2 separate regions of the Homo sapiens genome follow, and region 2 is linked to region 1. Evidence: promoter capture Hi-C in 16 types of primary human blood cells and fetal thymus (Javierre and others, 2016). All regions are on one chromosome and are shown on one strand. Each heading gives the region's core, a stretch centred on a gene start or on the middle of the fragment in contact. The rest is flanking DNA. Distances are from core to core; before and after follow the strand shown.

Region 1 (6,766 bases), core at 3,048-5,547:
TGATGGATTTTCCTGAGCTCCACCAGAAGTGCAGTGATGGAAAAGACCTCCTGTAGGTTTACTTTGTGCACTTACTGAGTCTCCTTGTAAGTAACCCTGTAGGACTCTAAATGCAGCATCCTGGGCTGCACGTATATAGGTTTCAGTGAATCTTGCCAACTGCCCCAGTAACATTTAACAATTCAGTCCCAGTCTTGCCTGATAATTCCCATTGTTCTCTCTCATACTTGAACCCTGAATGTTATCATTTTTCTTTAATATCTGCCACCAAACTAACAAAGCTTGTGGTAACCTGTGTGGGACAGCTATACAGTACATCCTGTGTACTCTCAAGGCATAAACTACATACATTGATTGCAGCATTGATCTATGATCTGCAGACAGTGTGCCTAAAAGCACATCCCAAGGCTCTGTGCCTTCCTGGTCACATGACCTTGGACAAGTTCACCTATTTACTCCCTCTCTAATAATTTTCATATTATAGTTTTTTCAATGATTAAACAAGGAAATACATGCAGCATTGGGAAAGTTGATCAGTGCAGACTAAATACCTAATAAACACTAGCTTTTTAAAATTTTTTTTATTATTATTGTCATTGTTGCCATCTATTTTATCTCATTTCATGTCTGCATAGTATTCCAAAGAATTGATAATCTATTTTTATCTACTCTAAATAATCTTTAATTTTATATATGCTCATTAATACCAATCCTGTAAAAAAAAACATTTTGGGTAGATTTTACTACTGTTTATTTAAAATAATTTTAAATGAAAATTAAAATGTCAATAAATAGGCATATTTAAAATTGTGATCATATAATATCAGGTCTCAATTTTTTACCAAACCCTAATCTTTCAAGAGGATACGTGTACACTGATTTGTCTTACCATAACCAAGAGCAGGTTATCAATTTTCCCATGATTTTTGTAATCATATTAGGAAGAATTTAACAGTCTCACTTATTTGATTATAAATAATACCATCACCTTTTCAAATATTTATTGGCCATCTCAATTTCTCCTTTTAAACTTGCCTGTTAATGTCTTTTATTCACATTCCTTTGGATTTTCTTTTTCTATTCTGTACATAAGATTCTTATTTTGGATTTTATCTGTTTCAAATATACAAGTAGTGAATATTTTTGCTCTAGGCTGTTATATTTTCTGGTAACATTGTGTGAGGTACCCTTTACCATACTGAAAGTAAAGATTTTCTATCATGACTATGGTTATCACTGTCCTTGGGTGCCTGGAGCACTGGGTGCATCTGAGTAGGTGTCATGTCAGGAAGAAAGAAGATCACCCCAAAATGGTGCCTGGGAGGAGCAGTGCCACCTGTGGACGCTGGCTCTCGTGTTGGCACAACACAACAGGCTATAACTGCTTAACTGCTGCTTCACACAAGGATTATTGGAGGTGTTCACACGGGAAGAGCTAGATTCTGTTTGTCCCATGCTATATCTCTGTTGTACTCCCTAAGTCTTCCCAAGACTGAGAAGAACCTGTGAGAATATGAGTAGTGAGAAGAAATACGGCCGGGCACGGTGGCTCACATCTGCAATTCCAGCACTTTGGGAGGCTAAGGCAGGCAGATCACCTGAGGTCAGGAGTTTGAGAACAGCCTGGCCAAGATGATGAAACCCCGTCTCTACTAAAAATACAAAAATTTTCTGGGTGTGGTGGTGTGTGCCTGTAGTCCCAGCTACTTGGGAGGCTGAAGCAGGAGAATCACTTGAACTCCGGAGGTGGAGGTTGCAATGAGCCAAAATCAGGCCACTGCACTCCAGCCTTGGCGACAGAACAAGTCTCCATAAAAGAAATTTTAACAGCAAGAGAGGCAAGCTCTACTCACCTTCAACGTGGTCATTTTTCCTCCTATTTCAGGGAATATTCAGAGTCCTGAGTGATACAGTCCAAGGGAAAGCAGAATCCTGCCTGGAAAGTACCAGGGAAGGCAGAAAAAGAGACATGAAAGTGTGGCCAGGGATGCCATCCACCAACACGAATGTGTATTGTAAATTAACACATGAATGTTCCCAACAGCATCATTCATAGTAACCCAAAACTGCACACCAACAAACTCCCTCCTATGCGTACATGGATAGACAAATTGTGGCCTATCCATACAATGGAATCTTATTTGGAAATTAAAAGGAATGAAGTACTGATTCATGCTACAACACGCATGAACTTTGGAAACATTATGCTAAGTGAAAGAAGCCAGTCACATAGGAAGGCCCACATATTGCATGATCCTATATCTATGAAATTCCAGAGTAGGCAAGTGTATATAACGAGAAAGTAGATAGGTGGTCTCTGCATATTTGAGGTGACAAAGAGGATTAACTATAAGTGAGCACAAGGAGGCTTAATGGGGGATGAAAATTATTTAAACTGAATTATGGTGATGTTTATTCCACTCCACAAAGTTCCTAAAAATCATTAAAGTGTACACACGAAATGGGTAGTTTCTATGATATGTAGAATACACCTCAATAAAGTTGGACAAAGCATTGGTAATTGTTCATCCACATGTCATTTAACTTAATAAGACTGGATTCTGGATCTACACTGATAGAATATTTATAGTTGAATGAATGAATAAGCAAATGAAGGAGAAGGGAGAGTTCACCTTTACAGTAGAATGTGCACTAATAAATGTATTTCTCCTTACAAAATTTTATTTAACTAAAAAATTAGGGAGTGTATATTGAGAGCAACTTGAATCTGTGTTCCTGGGGTAAAAAAAAAAATTCAAAATAATTTTACAATGCGGAAATCTGACAAACATGACTTTAGCCAAGTGAACAAAGTTGAGATCACCAATGAAGTGACAAACTGACATATGGCCCCTGTTATGTTGCAATAAGAAATTTACCACTTCAGGCTGGGCACGGTGGCTCATGCCTGTAATCCCACACTTTGGGAGGCCAAGGCGGTTGAATCACCTGAGGTCAGGAGTCTGAGACCAGCCTGGCCAACATGGTGAAATCCCTTCTCTACTAAAAATACAAAAATTAGCCGGATGTGGTGGCAGGCACCTGTAATCCCAGCTACTTGGGAGGCTGAGGCAGGAGAATAGCTTGAACCCAGGAGGTGGATGTTGCAATGAGCTGAGATCGTGCCATGCACTACAGCCTGGGCGACAAGAGCGAAACTCCGTCTCAAGAAAAAAAAAGAGAGAGAGAGATTTACCACTTCTGTGGTATTCCAGCAAAAAATGCATATTTTGAAGTTAAACGTGAAATACATCAGAAAAACTCCAAATGAACATCTTTGACCAAAATAACTTCATCTATACTCTTCAAAAATAACAAGGATAAAATACCAAGAAAAAACGATGAAAGCTATGCTATCTTTCAAGATTAAAGACTAGAAAAACATGACAACTGAAAGCAACACCCATGCCCGAAGACACATCCTATACACTCTCGGTTGGGGTGAGCATCTCTGTCAAAGAAAAAAGCCAAGGATCACTCACGTAGAGCTTTGCCCTCAGAAGCCAAGAAGTCCCTCCCTGCAGCTCTTTTGGAAAGGTCGGGCTGGGTAAGGAGAAGGCTGTGAAACACTCTGACCGTGGTCGCCGTGCCCCATAAAAGTTAAATGCTCCTCTCCCCTCCTGGAAGTGGATGCAACCCTCGCCTTCCTAAAAGAGAGGTCAGAAGGCGTCCGGGATCACCCAGCGTCTTGCAGGAATCAGGGAGAAGGGCCGGTGCCCCTGCAGCTGGAGTTTCACCCCACCCGGGGACCTGACAGGCTTCGTGGGAAATTAACAAGAGACCACCAGTCACCAAGTGACAGGGGCTGCTTTAAGGCTCTCATTTGTGTTACCGCTTTCAGTTCCCAAAACGATTCTATTAGGATGGTCCTAAACTCCCCATCTTAAAGAACTGTAACGGGAGACCCAAGGAGATTAAGTAACATCCCAGCGTTTTATCGCGAGGAAGTGGCCACGCGCGTGGGGTGCAGGGAGGCCGAGTGGGCGAGCTCAGAGCCCCGGAGACCCTAAAACCAGGCGAGACGCGACCCGACCAAGTCCCAAACACCCCGGGGACGCGAGGAGAGCCCCAAGCCCAAGAAGGCTCCACTGACGAGAACGAAAACAGCGGCCCCGCTCCGCCAAACCTCTGCTCTCCGACGAGGTTTCTTTTCCCCTAATTCGATCACCAGTTCGTTAAGGATCCAATGCGTAGGTCCAGGAAATTCAGAAGGGTCTCGCGGAACTGACCCAAACTACCAGGGACAAAACTGCAGCAACCTCACAGTAACGGAGCGGAAGTGGCCCGCTACTCCACTGAGTGTCTGGACTCCACTTCCCAGAATTCCTGAGACAAACTGACCGCGACGACCCCGAGCGTCTGGACTACACTTCCCAGAATTCCCTGGGATCCACCTGCCGGAGTCAAATTGACCGAGACTCCACTGAGCGTCTGGACTACATTTCCCAGAAATCCCCTGATTCGCCTGCCGGAGCCAAGCTGACCGCTACTCCACTGAGCGTCTGGACTACCATTCCCAGAATTGCTTGTATCCTCCTTCTGGAGCCAGTGTGTACGACTCCACAGAGCATTTGGATTACACTCCTCCGAATGCTGAAGGAAAAACGCTCAAAATCTCATTCTTCAGGGGGAAGCGTTGCCACTCCGAGGTGCCCACTGGGAACGAATCCCAAAGCCACGAGCGCCTGCCTAGTGGGGAATGTGAACTGTTATCCTGAGAGTCGTCCTTCTCTCTCCCTGGTCCAGGACAGAAAATACTGAATAGACAGGAATTTCTGAAGTCTAAACGCCTCCAATGATAACAGGAGTGTTATTGGAAAGGGAACAAGCGAGAAGACACAGTCTTCGAGGAGTTAAGTTTTGCTAATCTAATGGTAAGAAATGGTTTCTAAATGTAGTTTTAATTTGTATTTGTTCTTTTGTAAATAAAGTGGAACATCCGTGCATATTTTCCGTTGCCACTATTATAGTCTTTGTGAATTGGTCAAATAGTTTGCCCACATTTCTATTGAGTGTTTAGTTTTTTCCCCTCCGTTAAGTATTATTTACATACTCATATTAACATTGTATCAAATATTGCTCAACCAAAAAGCTTTTTTCCTTTGACTTGTTTTTCGCTATGCAAAACGTTTTTAACGTGGTCGTTTTATTATTTAAAAAATATTTTTGAGGTGTAATTCACAAAACAAAATTATTTTAAGGCACATAATTCAATGGCAATGGCATCTAGTACGAATACAGTGTTGTTAATATATACGAGTTAAGAAGCCATCACTTAGGCAGATAGGGTATGGGAGCCCTCGGTAAGGCTTTTCTTTTTAATGAAAAGCAGCCCCAAATTATTTCCCTTCCTAAGGAAGAGCAGCCTGTAAAATCCAGCTGCCGCAGACATAGATACCAGCAGTTGTGCCAATCATGTTAAAGATGGCGGCTCCATCTTCCCTTCTCTTTGTCAGCCACGTGCACAGTAAGAAGCTGGCAAGATGGGCCAATCAACTGGGAAGCCTATTTGCATAAGAAGATTAGGGTGGGGCGACCAGCCTTCCCCACGCACTATGTAAACGTCATAACTGATCGAACCAATCTATGACCCCTATGTAAATCAGACACTGCCTCCTCAAACTGGTCTGTAAAACTCAGCACATTCACTGCCAGCCGACCCTTTTCCGCTCGGAGACCCCTTCCTCTATGGAGGAACCCGTTTCTCTTTCTCTTCTTCCTATTAAACCTCCGCTCCTAAACTGAGGAGTTTTTGTGTGTCCGTGTCCTAAATTTTTCTGGCGCTTAACGACGAACCCCGGGTTTAAACCTCAGACAAAGTAGCTGCTTCATTGTGAAACCACCACCTCTTGAATTACAAAACATTTTTATCACCCAAAGAAAACCCCATGCCCACTAAGCAATCACTACTGTTGTCCATAATCCCATTCCTGGGGAAACATGAATCTTTCTCTCTTTTCTATTACCTATTTTGGACAAATCATAAAAATGAATGGAACATTTTGTTTCTAACTCCCTTTGCTTAGCATAATATTTTTAATGTTATTCACATCATACCACGTATCAGTACTTCATTCCTTTTCATAGATGAATATTTTATGTTTATACTACAATTTGTTTCTCCATTCATACATTGACGCACATTTGGCTTCTTTTCACCTTTTGGCTGTAGTGAACAGTGTTGCTACAAATGTTCGTGTATACGTATTTGTTTCATTACCAGCTTTCAGTTTTGGTTGTTTTTTGTTTGTTTTTTGTTTTGAGAGGGAGTTTCGCCTCCCGCGTTCAAGCGATTCTCCTGCCTCAGCCTCCAGCGTAGCTGGGATTACAAGCATGTGCCACCACGCCCGGCTAATTTTGTATTTTTAGTAGAGAGGGGGTTTCTCCATGCTGGTCAGGCTGGTCTCAAACTCCCGACCTCAGGTGATTCACCCGCCTCGGCCTCCCAAAATGCTGGGATCACAGGCGTGAGCCACCGCGTCCAACCGTGTATTCCACTTCTTTCTGCTGCTGAGACACAATAATTTCAGATGACTTCTCTTTATATTCACTCATTCTGAATACAGCAAGAGTAGGGAGATGAATATTAGGTGCACTTACCTGTGGCTTCAGAGCCTGCACAAACACAATCTCATATATACCACTTCCAAATGGAATACTAATCTGCACATGTAACTTAAAAAGGTGCAGGGGTCAACACCCGATTCATGATGGAAAGCATAAGTCACATGTTAATTTGGTGGTCTGTGGTCAAGTGTTCTGTCCG
Region 2 (6,766 bases), core at 3,004-5,503, 550 kb before region 1:
GCTGGGTGAGGTTTCTGCTGCTGGATGCGGTTTCTCGTTCCTACAAAGGCTCACCCAGGTAGGGATGGGCAGCTTCTCTGGGTCTGAGTCTGGATGTGATGCCTGGAATGCAGCAGCCATCTTGGCACCAGAGGGTGATGCCAATATGTGGAGGAAAGCAGAACAAACAGCAGAGCAGCAGAACTGGGCCTGCATGCTGTGCCCGGAGTAGAGCCAGGCAATCCAGTTTTTTTTTTTTTTTTTTTTTTTTTGGAGACAGAGTCTCACTCTTGTCACCCAGGCTGGAGTGCAGTAACTCGATCATGGTTTACTCCAGCCTCCACTTCCCGGGTTCAAGGGATTCTCCCACCTCAGCCTTCTGAGTAGCTGGGATTACAAGCATGCACCACCACACCTGGCTAATTTTTTTTGTAGAGACACGGTTTCACTATGGTCTGGTCTTGAACTCCTTACCTCAAGTGATCCACCCGCTGCAGCCTCCCAAAGTGCTGGGATTACAGGCGTGAGCCACTGCGCCCAGCCCGTAATTTTTTGTAAAAAGTTAGATTTCAGTAGCACAGACATTTTCACCCCAAGCAATCTGCAACCCAGAGGCTTCTGGGACCTCACAGCTCCTCAAGGTGAGATCGTATCAACCTGAAAAGATTCCCGACTCCCGTGCAGGAGCAATGCAGAGGGAGGGTGTGGAGTGTTTTAGCCTCCTTATGATCTCCATCATACCCTGCCCCCCGCCAAGTCTCTGATAAGGATAGTTGCGGTTTTCTTAACCTTACTATAAGTTTATACAACACCTATACCAAAATTCTGGGCCCACTCTCCATTCCTGGCTCTGTGGACTCCAAGGATGCCCCCTCCCTCCAGAAAAAGGTCATCGCCTACGTCGCTGGTGGGAACAGAACTCAGCACAACTTCTGTGAGGGTTCATTTGTCAATATCTATCACAATGACAAGAAACATACTCTTTGGCCCAGCAATTCCACCTCCAGGAGTGTGTCCTACACTCAGGTGTTAACATGAGCTAAATGACAGTGTGCATTGGCCAGGCACGGTGGCTTATGCCTATAAATCCCAGTACTTTAGGAGGCCAAGGCGGGAGGATTGTTTGGGCCCAGGAATTTGAGACCAGCCTGGGCAAGATGGCAAGATTCCTTTCTCTAAAATAAAAAAAAAAAAAAGTAAAATAAATGACAGTGTGTAAAGTTATTCACTACAACATTGTAATAGTGAAAGGCTGGAAAGGATACAAATGCCTGTCCTTAGAGGCCTCGTTAAAAAAGCCCTGTACAGCCCTCCCATGGAATATGAGGTGGGTGTAGAACAACTCAGGAGGCATTCTCTGAATTACCAGAAACTGAGCAAAAAAAGTAAGGTTCAGGGTGGGCGCGGTGGCTCACATCTGTAATCCTAGCGCTTTGGGAGGCCAAGGCAGGAGGAGCACTTGAGCCCAGGAGTTCCAGCCCAGCCTAGGCAACATAGCGAGATGCCTATCTCTACAAAAGTTAAAAAGAGATTTAGCCAGGTGGGGTGGCGCCCACCTATAGTCCCAGCTACTCGGGAGGCTGAGATGGAAGGATAGCCCGAGCCCAGCAGGTCGAGGCTGCAATGAGCCATGATCACGCCACTGCACTCCAGCCTGGGCAACAAAGTGAGACTCTTATTTCTAAAATAAATAAATAAATAAACAAATAAATAAATAAATAAAGTGCACTATTCAATGGTTTTTTGGTATAATTAATTTTCAAAAATGGTGGTTAAAAAGAGATAACAGACAATTTGCCATTTTAGCTATTTTTGAGTGTATGATTCAGTGGCATTCATTACATTCACAGTGTTGTGTAAAACTGGATATCCATGTGCAGAAGAATGGAGCTGGACCATTACACTCCAAACACAAATTAGAATGGATCCCTCATGTCTTTTTATCTTCTAATTTTGGGACGTTTATGTACTATCTAATTAAAAAAATTAGCTTAGCATGGTGAGGGGCAGCTGTGGTCACAGCTACTTGGTAGGCTGAGGTGGGAGGATTGCTTGAGCCCCGGAGTTAGAGGCTGCAATGAGCTATGATCGTGCCATTGCACTCCAGCCTGGGTGACAGGAGACACCGTCCCTTAAACATTTTTTTTGGAGAGGAAAAAAAAAAAGACAAGCTGTTCCTAAGGTGCCTGGGAATCCCAGCCCTTATGGCCCTCTTCATTTAGCGTCTTGCTTCCATGCCTCTGGTTCCATCCCACGTGGTGACAGTACACATGAAACCTGTCTGCTCCTTGATTTCCACAAAAGACCCCATTGCACACAGCCGCTGGAGGTACAATAAATAAGCTTTAATGAGATTCTGGGTGCTGGAGACAGACAAGGAGCTTACGTGCCACCAAAGCAACCAATGTTCCTTTATCTCCCCAACTCTGTGGGGTCCCACTGGCCTCCTCACCCTTGAGCCCTTTGCCCCTGCCATCCTGCTGGTTCCTATCTCTTCCCCACACTTCTCTGTTCCCGGCTCTTCCATCTCTGTCCAGAGCAAATCCTCTGTCCTGCTTATTTTCTCTTGCAGAGCAGCTCAAGCTTTGCATTCCCATTTAGCATCTTGGCCCAAGGTCTTCTCTCCCTCAACGTATTTTCCCAAACAGTTTTCTTTATAAGAGGAATTCTGCTGTCTGCCCTCAAGATCATAGACCTTTTTAACTTGTCAGTTGCACTGAGCAGCTGGGCCTCCTGGGTCTTGGGTCGCATCCATCTTGGTCCTATAGGAGCGTGTCCTGAGCAACTGCAGCGCTGCCTCCCCCTGCATCCCTTCCCCCTTGTGTTGGAAATTGCATTTGCTTCTTTTGTGGGTTATTTCCTGCCAGTCCCAGCTTGCTGGCTGCAGATGCTGGCAGAAAGTGGCTGCAGATGCTGGCAGAAAGTGGCTGCAGCTGACAACCTTCTTCAAGTTCACATCTAGTAGTTTTCTCTGCTCCTTGGACACCCCCCAGGCAGCTGCTTGCGGCCTGAATTGCAGCCTCTGGTGACCAGGGTCAGTGGCTGTTTCTTGTAACCACAGAGATCTGACGGATACAGAGATTTAGAAGCTCAAGGCCAGAGGCCAAATTTTTACCAAAATTCTCTGGTGGCCCACACCCTTCTGTGTGGTCTGCTATGCAGTAAAGGCTTAACCTTGCCCAAAGAAAGATCGGGCCCTTTATCCTCAGCTCCTGGGCATTCATCTCTAAGCCCTTGGAATATCCTGCCTGGTAGCTGATCTTGGAGTCTTGGGCCACTCTGGGTGGTTCATGCTAATGATGTGATTTATGGTGGGGGTCTTGGGCCACACGGTATTGGCTTGATGTATGAGGTCAGCCGTGTGGATGGTGAGCTGCTTAATTCAGCACTTTGGGAGGCCAAGGCAGAAGTATCACTTGGAGCCAAGAGTTCAAGACCAGCCTGGGCAACACAGGGAAACCTCGACTTTACAAATAATAAAAAGATTAGCCAGACGTGGTGGCACATACCTGTAGTCATAGCTACTCAGGAGGCTGAGGTGGGAGGATGACTTGGCGTTGAGAAGTCAAGGCTGCAATGAACTGTGATCTCACCACTGTACTCTAGTCTGCCAACAGAGCCAGACCCTGTCTCAAGACAAACAAAAAACTCTGGACACAAAGATCTCGAGTGAGCTGCTCTGGTTGGCAGTATTGGCAGTACTTCTTGCATGTTGTCACATGTTGCTGTGAGAATCAGGTGCTGCCTATATGGCTCCACTGGGAGAGGGCAGATGGAAGCCGTCGCCTCATCTGTCGTGGAACGTGTGCTGTGCACCTCCTCCCTTTGCTGATCTTAATCTCTGTCCTTTTACTGTAATAAACTGTAACTGTGAGCCTAACAGCTTTCCTGAGTCTAGTGAGTCCTTCTAGCAAATGAAAGGAGGGTGGTCTTGGAGACCTATGAACTTGCACCTGCCCCCGTCGTTTTGAGGTCTGGCACAGGGAGGGAGGCTGGTCTCTTTGGAGGGGGTCTTCATCCATTGGGGTCGGGTCCAACTCTGGAGGCCCACGTCCTTGCCAGCTCCAGTCTCTCTCCCCTCTCAGTCCCGACGCTGTCACCTTGTGCCCTCTGTCTGTGGATCCTGGGAAGAGCTGTTCTCTCTGCTCACAGCTGAATAGGAGACATGCTAGAAGAGGGTTTTCAAATTTTAGCCTTGGGGCTCTTTTGAACAAAATCAAACATCTTCCCACTGAAGCCCCATGTGCAAAGAACTGCAGGCCCGTCCCCTCCTCTCTCCCTGGAAGCCAGGGCAGTGCTTCTCAAGGTGTGGCCATGGGTGGAATTGAAGGGGCGTGGGGCAGGGGGGAGAGAGCGGATATTAAAATGCAGATTCCCTGGCCCCATCACAGACCAGACTGTCTGGGGCTGCGTCTTAGCAAACTCTACAGGGGATTCCGCCCAGCAGGAAGGGTTGGGAAATGCTGCTCGAGGCACCAGGAGAAAAGACCCAGGCTCCTGAGGCCGGGCCGTGGGCATCTGAAGACGTCTGGTCTGTAGTTCGTGCAGACCCCACACCCTCCTTAGCTCCAACACTGCACTTACCCCATTAGCTGAGGCGCTGGCATGCTCTGTACCTGGGGAAATAGGAGGGGAAGTCGTCAGGAAGGAATAATGCTGGGAAGCATGGGAAGAAGACATGCCTGGGTGTCAGGGCCCTGAAAATGTCAAGTTCTGCCTCTGCTATTACATGGGGGTGCCATTTCCCTTAATGGTATACACGTGTGTCAGACAGGGATGGAGGGTGTGCTTTCTAAGGATTTAGCCATCCAGTTATTCACTTGGTTATGAAATATCCATAAATATCGAGCCTGGCTCTGGAACCAGATGGATGGGTTCAAATTCCATCTCTGTCCTTTAGGAGCTGTGTGAACTTGGACAAGTGACTTAACCTCTCTGTGTTCAGTTTCCTAGACTATTCAACAGGGGTTTATTTAGCAAATAGTAGTATTATTCAGCAAATGGTGAATGTCTACTTTGTGCCAGGTACATTCTAGGTGCTGGGGACACAGCTGTGAACAAAACAGATAAAAATGCCTGCTCTTGGCCAGGCGTGGTGGCTCACACCTATAATTCCAGCACTCTGGGAGGCTGAGGTGGGCGGATTGCTGGAGTCTAGGAGTTTGAGACCAGCTTGGGCAACACAACGAAACTCCATCTCTACTAAAAATATAAAAAATTAGCCAGGCGTGGGAGTGCACGCCTATAATCCCAGCTACTCGAGAGGCTGAGGTGGGAGAATCACCTGAGCCTGGGAGGTTGAGGCTGCAGTGAGCCAAGATCACATCACTGCACTACTCCAGTCTGGGCAACAGAGCAAGATCTTGTCTCAAAACAAAACACAAACAAACAAACAAAAAGCCTGCTCTTGTGCAGTTTATGTTAATAATAACAATAATAGTAATAATAGCAATAACAATCATAGCAAATACATACTCAGTATGTGGCTTACCATGTGCCACCTACTGTGTTAAGTGCTCTACTGTATTATTAGGTACCATCACCCCATTTTACAGATGAGGAAACTGAGTCATACAGCTTAAGCTATTTGCCTATGGTGACATCACTAATCAAGCAGTAGCTTTAGGGCCCAGATACAGGCAGTCTGGCTCTGGAGCTGACACATTGAATCACTCAGCAAACACTTCCTCGAGTGCCTCTTTTATGCCCGGCCCAGTGGTAGGCGGTCCTGGGGACACAGTCATGACAGTGACAGCCTCAGGTCTGCTATCTTGGGGCTCACAGTCCACTGGGGATGACAAACAAGTCCCCCACGGTGATGACCCAGAATGGGCAAGGCTGGAGTGGGAGAGCCTAGTGGATGCTTGGCTCATGCTTGGGGGTCAGGGAGGGCTTCCTGGACGAGGCAGTATCCGCCTGGGTTGTAAGGGAGCAGCTTTGTTTAGTGGTTGAAGGAAAAGCTTGGTAGTCAAAGATCTGGCTTCTTCTCCCCAACAACCATGTCCAGCTGTTTGACCATTGGCAGGTAACTTCATCTCTCAAAGCAAATACTTCCTCCTCTGTAACATGGGGCTCACGGGAGAACCACTTTGCTGGGTGGTTGTGGGCATTCAAGGAGATTGTACAGGCCAGGTGTGGTGGCTCATGCCTGTAATCCCAGCACTTTGGGAGGCTGAGGCGGGTGGATCACAGGAGACCAGGGGTTTGAGACCAGCCTGGCCAACATGGCGAAACGCTGTCTCTCCTAAAAATACAAAAATTGCTGGGCATAGTAGTGCGTGCCTGTAATCCCCGCTCCTTGGGAGGCTGAGGCATGAGAATCGCTTGAACCTGGGAGGTGAAGGCTACAGTGAGCCGAGATCGCACCACTGCACTCCAGCCTGGGCGACAGTGAGAGCCTGTCTCAAAAATAAATAAATAAATACATAAATAATAAAAAAAATTAAAAATTAAAATCGAGGGGGTTATACATACAAAGTGGCATGTAGACAGTGCTCAGCAAAGCATCGTTCCTCTGATTACAGAATGAGCTGGCACACTTCTCCAGAAGGAGCCATGGGAGGGTGCTCCAGGCAGGGGAACGGCCTGTGCAAATCTCTTGAGGTGTGAAAGCATCAGACCCTTTTAGAGCTGAGGATCAGAGGTGCCAGTTCCTGCCACCTCCTCCTAGGAGTCACTCCTGAACAAGGCAGATGGAGTAAGGCTGAGGGCTTAAGCATTATTTCACCCTCCATCCATCTGGCAGGGACTCCCACATCACCTGAATTAAATTCCAAAGTCCCTACCA

Evidence for each region. The method cuts DNA at HindIII sites, captures the fragments that hold promoters and counts their contacts. A CHiCAGO score of 5 or more calls a contact.
Region 2: a contact is called between a fragment that was not itself captured here and the fragment with the promoter of ZNF225 in region 1, in 1 of 17 cell types (erythroblasts). The highest score is 5.5, in erythroblasts.

The regions. Positions count from the first base shown.
Region 1 is chr19:44,110,930-44,117,695 of GRCh38, reverse strand. It overlaps ZNF225 (zinc finger protein 225), which reads right to left and starts at 4,297. Exons shown (of 5, transcript NM_013362.4): 1 at 4,127-4,297; 2 at 1,854-1,936. The coding sequence starts at 1,868. ZNF225-AS1 (ZNF225 and ZNF224 antisense RNA 1) reads left to right here and starts at 4,513. Exons shown (of 2, transcript NR_033341.1): 1 at 4,513-4,874. RefSeq lists an enhancer at 3,844-4,543 and a silencer at 4,236-4,586. The HindIII fragment of the contact is 4,811 bases long and covers 284-5,094 here.
Region 2 is chr19:44,659,121-44,665,886 of GRCh38, reverse strand. It overlaps PVR (PVR cell adhesion molecule), which reads right to left. Exons shown (of 8, transcript NM_006505.5): 7 at 4,564-4,595; 8 at 1-4,147. The coding sequence ends at 4,076. It also overlaps a transcript of CEACAM19 not described here. Among named protein-coding and RNA genes, the nearest start is that of MIR4531, 8.8 kb to the right of the region's middle. The HindIII fragment of the contact is 3,377 bases long and covers 2,565-5,941 here.